3 separate regions of the Homo sapiens genome follow, and regions 1 and 2 are each linked to region 3. The links are contacts of gene promoters, found by promoter capture Hi-C in blood cells and fetal thymus (Javierre and others, 2016). All regions are on one chromosome and are shown on one strand. Each heading gives the region's core, a stretch centred on a gene start or on the middle of the fragment in contact. The rest is flanking DNA. Distances are from core to core; before and after follow the strand shown. Region 1 has its middle 4.8 kb from the start of HM13. Region 2 has its middle 5.2 kb from the start of LINC00028. Region 3 holds the start of DEFB116 (defensin beta 116).

Region 1 (2,700 bases), core at 159-2,658, 200 kb after region 3:
TTAGTAGAGACAGGGTTTCACCATTTTGGCCAGGCTGGTCTTGAACTCCTGAGCTCAGGTGATCCGCCCACTTGGCCTCCCAAAGCTTTGGGATTACAGGTGTGAGCCACTGCGCCTGGCCTCTTTAAGTTCATCTGTTTTAAATTGTTGTTATTTGGAGGTTTTCTGTTGCATGCAACCAGCCAAACCTAATCATAACTGACATGTTGTTCTGGTTATCTATTGCTGCATAAAGAGGAACTCCCAAAAGAACTATTTTGTCAAACTTACTGATTCTGGGGATCAGGAGTTTTGACAGGACTTTGTGGGCATGGCTTGACTCTGCTCCATGCTCTCTGGAGCCCCAGCTGGGAAGACTTGATGGTTTAGTGTGACTCAAGCAGCTGGGGACTGGGATCATCTGGAGGACTCTTCACTCACATGTCTGGCACCTGGACTGAGATAACAAAAAGACTGGACTCAGCTGGCATTGCTGACTGAAGCATCTACACATGGCTTCTCCATGTGACTTGGGCTTCCTTACAACATGGCAGTCTCTGGGCAGTCAGACTTGTTAAAAGTGGCTCAGAGGTCCTTGAGCAATTGTTCCACTGAACAAGGTGGAAGCTGTTTGGCTTCTTCCTTATTTCCTTTTTCTTTAATTTCCTCTAAAATATTTTATCTTCTTGTTTGGCCTCTTCTGACCTCGCTTCAGAAGTCATGCAGCATCAACCTTGTCTGCAGCTGCCCTGAGCCAGCAGTTCTCTACACACCCAGCATCAGCATCAAGTGAGATGCACCCAGCACGGTTGGAGCAGGCATGGGCAGAGCAATGGTAGCCAGGCTCCAGCAGGGGCTGCAACTTCTGGCACTGCTCCTACGGATGCAGATTTATACAGCTCAAACAACTGCTCTAACTTTTAAGTAACTTCTTCCAGAATAACGGCTGCCCCCAAGTCTAGCGAATGCCACCAATAAGGCATTGACAGTGTCCTGCAGTCAACAGCCAGTCTCCCCCCTCACTCCTCAGGGTCTCACTCTCTTCCTCTTCTCTGCTGTTAAAAGACTCAGGCCAGGCCAGGCATGGTGGCTCACGCCTGTAATCCCAGCACTCTGGGAGGCCGCGGCAGGTGGATCCCCTGAGGTCAGGAGTTCAAGACCAGCCTCAACAACATGGAGAAACCCTGTCTCTACTAAAAATACAAAACTAGCCAGGCATGGTGGCGCATGCCTGTATTCCCAGCTACTGGGGAGGCTGAGGCAGGAGAATCACTTGAACCAGGGAGTCGGAGGTTGCAGTGAGCCGAGATTGTGCCACTGCACTCCAGCCTGGCAACAGAGCTAGACTCCATCTCAAAACAAAAAAAAAAAAAAAAAAAAGTGAAACTATCTCAAAAAAAAGACTCAGGCCAAGACAGGTCTACACTTTCCCATCTTCTAAATTCAATTCAAAGGTCATCTAGAAGGCCAGTATGGCAAGGAAAAAACAAGTCTTCATCAAATCTAGTAGATCTAGATAAAATAAGATACAGGCCAGGCGTGGTGGCTCACACCTGTAATCCCAGCACTTTGGGAGGCCGAGGCGGGTGGATCATGAGGTCAGGAGATCAAGACCATCCTGGCTAACACGGTGAAACCCCGTCTCTACTAAAAATACAAAAAAAAAAAAAAATTAGCCGGGCACGGTGGCGGGTGCCTGTAGTCCCAGCTACTTGGGAGGCTGAGGCAGGAGAATGGCATGAACCCGGGAGGCGGAACTTGCAGTGAGCTGAGATCATGCCACTGCACTCCAGCCTGGGCGAAAGAACGAGACTCCATCTCAAAATAAAATATAAGATCCACATCTTGGTTGGGCGTGGTGGCTCACGCCTGTAATCCCAGCACTTTGGAAGGCCGAGACGGGCAGATCACGAGGTCAGGAGTTTGAGACCAGCCTGACCAACATGGTGAAACCCCATCTCTACTAAAAACACAAAAATTAGCCGGGCGTGATGGCGGGTGCCTGTTGTCCCAGCTACTCAGGAGGCTGAGGCAGGAAAATTGCTTGAGCCCGGGACACAGAGGTTGCAGTGAGCCAAGATCACACTACTGCACTCCAGCCTGGGTGACAGAACAAAACGCCATCTCAAAAAAAAAGATAAGATCCACATCTAATTTTATTGACACAGAAAATGTCAAGAACCCCAAATTTGGTTGGTTTGAAGAACATGTGAAGGGTTTGACTAGATGATGAATGTCAATATTAAATCAGCTGAAGTTTCATATACAAAATGAAGAGGAACAGCATTCAAACTTAGTTAAGACACAATTTCCTTGAGTGGCCAGGCATGGTAGTCATGCCTGTAATCCCAGCACTTTGGGAGGCCAAGGTGAGCAGATCGCTTGAGCCCAGGAATTCAAGACCAGCCTGGGCAACATGGTGAAACCCCATCTCTATAAAAAATGGAAAAATTAGCTGGGCATGGTGGTATATGCCTATAGTCCCAGCTACTCGGGAGGCTGAAGTGGGAGGGTCGCTTGAGCCCAGGAGGTCAAGGCTGCAGTGAGCTGTGATCATGCCATTGTGTTCCAGCCTGGGTGACAGAGTGAAAATGTGCCTTGAAATAAAATTTTCCTTTGAATACGGCTTAAGAAATATGGCCACTTAAAACTCTACCTTGAAAATAAATATAGATTTTATCTTATCTAGAGGTAGAGTGGGAAGTTTTCATTTGGTACATT
Region 2 (2,700 bases), core at 114-2,613, 180 kb after region 3:
TTGAATCCTGGAGGCAGAGGTTGCAGTGAGCCGAGATCATGCCCCTGCACTCCAGCCTGGGCGACAGACCAAGACTCTGTCTCAAAAACAAAAAAAAAAATAGTATTTCTCACTAAGGGTCGATGTGAGAATTCAATCAGGTTGGCTATTTGTTAGCATGATGCTTTGCACTCAGTAAGCACTCAATAAATTGTAATGCATTTCCATGCATTACTTTATACTTTTTCCCACAGATATATTTTGCTAAGGCAAAGTATTGGATGCTTTTAAACATCATACTATATGTATCCTTCAGCTTTATTATTTTTCACATTCAACATTATATTTATGAGATTCCTTGTGTTGAAATCTGTAACTATTCTTTTTCATCACTGCACAGTATTCCACTGTATGAACATATAAGATTTATTTATCTTTTCTTCCTCTTGATGGGCTTTTTTTCTGCTATAAATAATGCACTATGAACATTGCATGTGCCTCTTTGAGCACAAATATGAGAGTTCCTCTTTCCATCTTTCCACTCTGCCATCTTCTGGGTCTCAGCTTGCCCTGGGATAGCTACCCTTAGGGTCCCAATATGGCCACCCCAGTTTCAGGCATGAAACGTGGACATGACAAGGTCCAGGCAAAGCAAAAAGGTTGTCTCTTCCTCAGCATGTCCCTTTCATCAGCAAGGAAACTCTTCCAGTTCTCACTGGCCAGAATCTGGTTACATGGCCACCTTCAAACTAATCAGTGGCTTAGGTTAATCAGGGTTTGCATAAAGTACAACATGACCACACCAAGAAGAAAAGCTAGAGCTGGGTTAACACCCCAAGTGCTCTAGTCAGGCAGTCAAGGGTGCATGCTCTTAGCTTTTCCAGTCTTACAAAACAGTCCAGAGTGAGTGTGACCATTCCAAATCCAGTCCACTTCAGGGTCTACCCAACTCTGTGAATGAGGATAGATGCCTTTTCACAGAATTGTCTGGAATGAAACTTTGGGAGGCCAAAGTGGGCAGATCACCTCAGGTCAGGAGTTCAAGACCTGCCTGGCCAACATGGTGAAATCCTGTCTCTACTAAAAATACAAAAAAAAAAAAAAATAGCGAGACACGGTGGTGCGGGCCTGTAATCCTAGCTACTTGGGAGGCTGAGGCAGGAGAATCCCTTGAACCAAGGAAGCGGAGGTTGCAATAAGCCAAGATTGCACCACTGCACTCCAGCCTGAGCAACAGAGCAAGACAATGTTTCCAAAAAAAAAAAGATTGTCTGGAAAGCAATTTTTGAGTCTTACATACACACATACACATGCACACACATTAATTCCAAAACTGAAACCAGGATTCACTAACTCAAATGCTCACAGAGTCAGACCAATAATATAAGTCAGTGAAGTCAACTGGGTAGAGGACATTAGGCAGCATCAAGTCTATGGCAAACTGGAATCAGCTGCCTTGCCTAAAAGGAGGATACGAACTAAGCTGCCTGTGACTACTGTTGGAATATGAACCCAGTGTTGCCAGATACCGCATGTCAGTTTTTCTAAGAAAGGCAGAGAGCCAGATCTTTATGTGAAGTATCCCAATCCTTTTGTTTTGAGGCAGGGTCTCACTCTATTGCCCCAGGCTAGAGTGCAGTGGTGCGATCACAGCTCACTGCAGCCTCAACCTCCCAGGCTCAGGGGATCCTCCTGCCTCAGCCTCCAAGTAGCTGGGCCACAGGCATGCACCACCAGGCATAGCTAATTTTTTTTTTCTTTTTTTGTACAGTCAGGGTCTCTCTATGTTGCTCGGGCTGGCTTCAAACTCCTGGACTCAAATGATCCTCCCGTCTTGGCTTCCCAAAGTGCTGGGATTACAAGTGTGAGCCACTTCACCCAGCCCTAATTCTTTTTTATTTTTTTTTTTTGAGATGGAGATTCGCTCTTGTTGCCCAGGCTGGAGTGCAATGGTGCGATCTCAGCTTACAGCAACCTCCACCTCCCAGGTTCAAGCGATTTTCCTACCTCAGCCTCCCGAGTAGCTGGAACTACAAGCATGCACCACCACACCCAGCTAATTTTTTGTATTTTTATTAGAGATGGGGTTTCTCCATGTTGATCAGGCTGGTCTCGAACTCCCGACCTCAGGTGATCTGCTCACCTCGGCCTCCCAAAGTGCTGGGATTACAGGCATGAGCCACCGCGCCTGGCCACCCAGCCCTAATTCTTAAATAATTATTGCTGATTGTCATTTTGTGTTTTTTTGTTTGTTTGTTTTTTGAGATGGAGTCTCACTCTGTCACCCAGGCTGGAGTACAGTGGCGCGATCTTGGCTCACTGCAACCTCTGCCCCCCGGATTCAAGAGATTCTCCTGCCTCAGCCTCCCGAGTAGCTGAGATTACAGACACCTGCCACCGTGCCCGGCTATTTTTTTTTTTTTTTTGAGACTGTGTCTCACTCTGTTGCCCAGGCTGTAGTGCAGTGGCGTGATCTCGACTCACTGCAAGCTCTGCCTCCCGGGTTCACACCATTCTCCTGTCTCAGCCTCCCAAGCAGCTGGGACTACAGGCACCCGCCACCACGCCCGGCTATTTTTTTTTTTTTTTGTATTTTTAGTAGAGACGGGGTTTCACCGTGTTAGCCAGGATGGTCTCAATCTCCTGACCTCGTGATCCACCCGCCTCAGCCTCCCAAAGTGCTGGGATTACAGGCATGAGCCACCACGCCTGGCCTAATTG
Region 3 (2,700 bases), core at 70-2,569:
CGTTAACTATAGGAACTGTGTTGTACAGTAGATTTCTAGGACATATTCATGACAGTATAGTCTCTTCAATAAATGTATTGGGAAAACTAGGTATCTAGATGCAAAATAATAAAATTGGATATTTATCTTACACCATACACAAAAACAAATTCAAAATGGATTAAAGACTTAAATCTAAGACCTGAAACTATAAAACTCCTAGGAGAAAACATAGAGAAAAAGCTTCTTGACGTTGGCCTTGGGAAGGATTTTCTGGATATGACACCAAAGCACAGGCAACAAAAGCAAAAATAAACAAGGGGATTGCAGCAATCTAGAAAGTTTCTGCACAGCAAAGGAAACAGTCTACAAAATGAAGAAACAACCTATGGAATGGGAGAAAATATTTGCAAATCATATATCTGAGAAGGAGTCAATATTCTCCTTATTTCAATAGCCACAACCCTGCTGTGATGAATTCAACTGTCTTACTCAAGCTTAATCACCCCCAAACCCAGGCTAAGTCAATCCCTGCCCAGATAAACCTCACATACCCATGACTGAATAAGATACCCACTTTAGGCAAACACTAACTACAACTCAAGCCCTACCTCTTCTAATAACCACCAAAAGCCCAACTGCAAAACATACAAACATAACACTATCCAAGCCACCCAACCCCATTCACAGCATCAATCTAAAACACAACCCAGCTACAAACCTCTCTATACCCCAACTCCCAGTTGCACCAACTCTACCCCAGCTCCATTCAAGAAAAAATACCATTTCCTCTCTAGAATGCACCAAAACATCTATTCAGCCCAACCTATAAATACAATTATTCACCCCATGCTCATCCCCACTCACTTTTTGGATATTACCCTATCTCTAAGGTCTTACAACCTCCCCACCTCAACTCCCTACCCAACTCCAAACTGCTATACCCCTCCTATAGCTCCTCAACTTGCACACAGTCTCTCACACCTAACTCATGAATTAAGCCCCCATCCCAATGACAGCACTACCTAAAATGTTCCATGCTTAGACTGTCCACTATGCCAGGATCAACAACCTCTTCAATTTGTCTTGGCAGAGCAGAACCAGGGGAGATCTTTACATGAAATTAACCTTGGGAATAACATCTGTGACCCACCTGAGACCAGAAAAGGCTTTAGGTGTTGCCCACTATATGTGAGTAGGAGTCACTGCAGAGGTCACCAAGATACCAGTACCACATGCAAGACGCCAGAACCTTTGAGAGAGGCCTGAGTTACCTGGAGTCTTTTGAGCCAGGATCATAAGGATGGCAATGGTCATTAAACAGGGCTTCATGACTGACATGTTCCACCAGAATGAAGGGCTGTGTTGCAGGTGACCAAACAGAGATCACTGTAGCAGAGCAGTAGCCCGCCTTTATTAGTTTTGGAAATGCGTCAGGGTTCTGTGCAGTGAACTAAAAGGGATGGGAGATACCTGATGTCAGGCAGGAAGAAGGACAACATGTATCACTTATCTGAGCTGGATACTCTGTGTAAGCGTGGGAGACTTGCCAGCAGTGCTCATGTCTGTGTGGGCCTTTCTTCCCATTAAGAAATAAAGACAAATTAGAGCCAGTTGGCATTTTGTGTGAAACGAATTTGAATGAATGAATCAACCAAGCAAGCAAGCAAACTTGAAAAAACTTATAAACAATTAGATAAGAAATAAGCACGTGTATACCTATGTGAGGCACGTGTATACCTATGTAACAAACCTGCACGTTCTGCACATGTACCCCAGCACTTAAAGTATAATTGTAAAAAAAGAAATAAATAATTATTTTTAACTGTAGTCACCATGCTGTGCCCACAGAACACCAGAACTTATTCCTCCTATCTAACCGAAAGTTTGTACCCATTGACCAATGTCTCCCCTTTCCCCATCCACCCTCCCTCGAGGCTCTGGTAACAACCATGCTAATCTCTACGTCTATGAGTTCAATTTTTTTAGATTCCACATCTAAGTGAGATCATATGGTATGTGTCTCTCTGTGCCTGCTTTATTTCACTTCACATAGTGTCTTCTAGGTTCATTCATATGATTGCAAATAACAGAATTTTCTGTTTTTTAAAGGCTGAATAGTACTCCAGTATCTATAGTTAATAATAATGTAAAGAGCTAAAAGAAAGATTTTTAAATGACCTCATCACAAATAAATAATAAATATTTGAGGTGATGGACATGCTGATCTCTCAATTAATTGATCCCTTTATTATTATATAATGACCTTCTTTGTCTCACTTTGTGGTTTTTTACCTAAAGTCTATTTTTTCTGTTGTAAGAAAAGCTGTTCCTGCTCTTTTCTGGTTTCTTTTTCCATGGAACATCTTTTTCCATCACTTAACTTTCAGCCTATGTGTTTCCTTAAAACTGAAATGAGTCTCTTGTAAGCAAAATACAGTTGAGTCATTTAAAAAAATCAATTCAGCCACTCCTTCAATTGGCAAACTGAATCCATTTACATTCAAAGTAAGTATTGATAGGTAAGGATTTACTTTTGCCATTTTGTTCATTCTTTTCTGGTTATTTTATACATCCTTTGTTCCTTTCTTCCTCTTTTGCTATCTTCCTTTGTGATTAGATTATTTTCTATATTAGAATGCTTTGATTCCTTTCTTCTTATCCTTTGTGTATCTACTGTCAGTTTTTGCTTTGTGATTACTATAAGGGTTACACAAAACA

Evidence for each region. Contacts are between HindIII fragments. The CHiCAGO score rates a contact against its expected background, and 5 or more counts as called.
Region 1: a fragment that was not itself captured here is called in contact with the fragment with the promoter of DEFB116 in region 3 in 1 of 17 cell types (erythroblasts); the score reaches 5.2 in erythroblasts.
Region 2: a fragment that was not itself captured here is called in contact with the fragment with the promoter of DEFB116 in region 3 in 1 of 17 cell types (M2 macrophages); the score reaches 5.5 in M2 macrophages.

Annotation. Positions count from the first base shown.
Region 1 is chr20:31,508,253-31,510,952 of GRCh38, forward strand. It overlaps the pseudogene CD24P3. Among named protein-coding and RNA genes, the nearest start is that of HM13, 4.8 kb to the right of the region's middle. The HindIII fragment of the contact is 2,650 bases long and covers 84-2,700 here.
Region 2 is chr20:31,489,599-31,492,298 of GRCh38, forward strand. No RefSeq gene overlaps it. Among named protein-coding and RNA genes, the nearest start is that of LINC00028, 5.2 kb to the left of the region's middle. The HindIII fragment of the contact is 4,898 bases long and covers 1-2,700 here.
Region 3 is chr20:31,307,266-31,309,965 of GRCh38, forward strand. It overlaps DEFB116 (defensin beta 116), which reads right to left and starts at 1,320. Exons shown (of 2, transcript NM_001037731.1): 1 at 1,254-1,320. The coding sequence starts at 1,320. The HindIII fragment of the contact is 2,687 bases long and covers 475-2,700 here.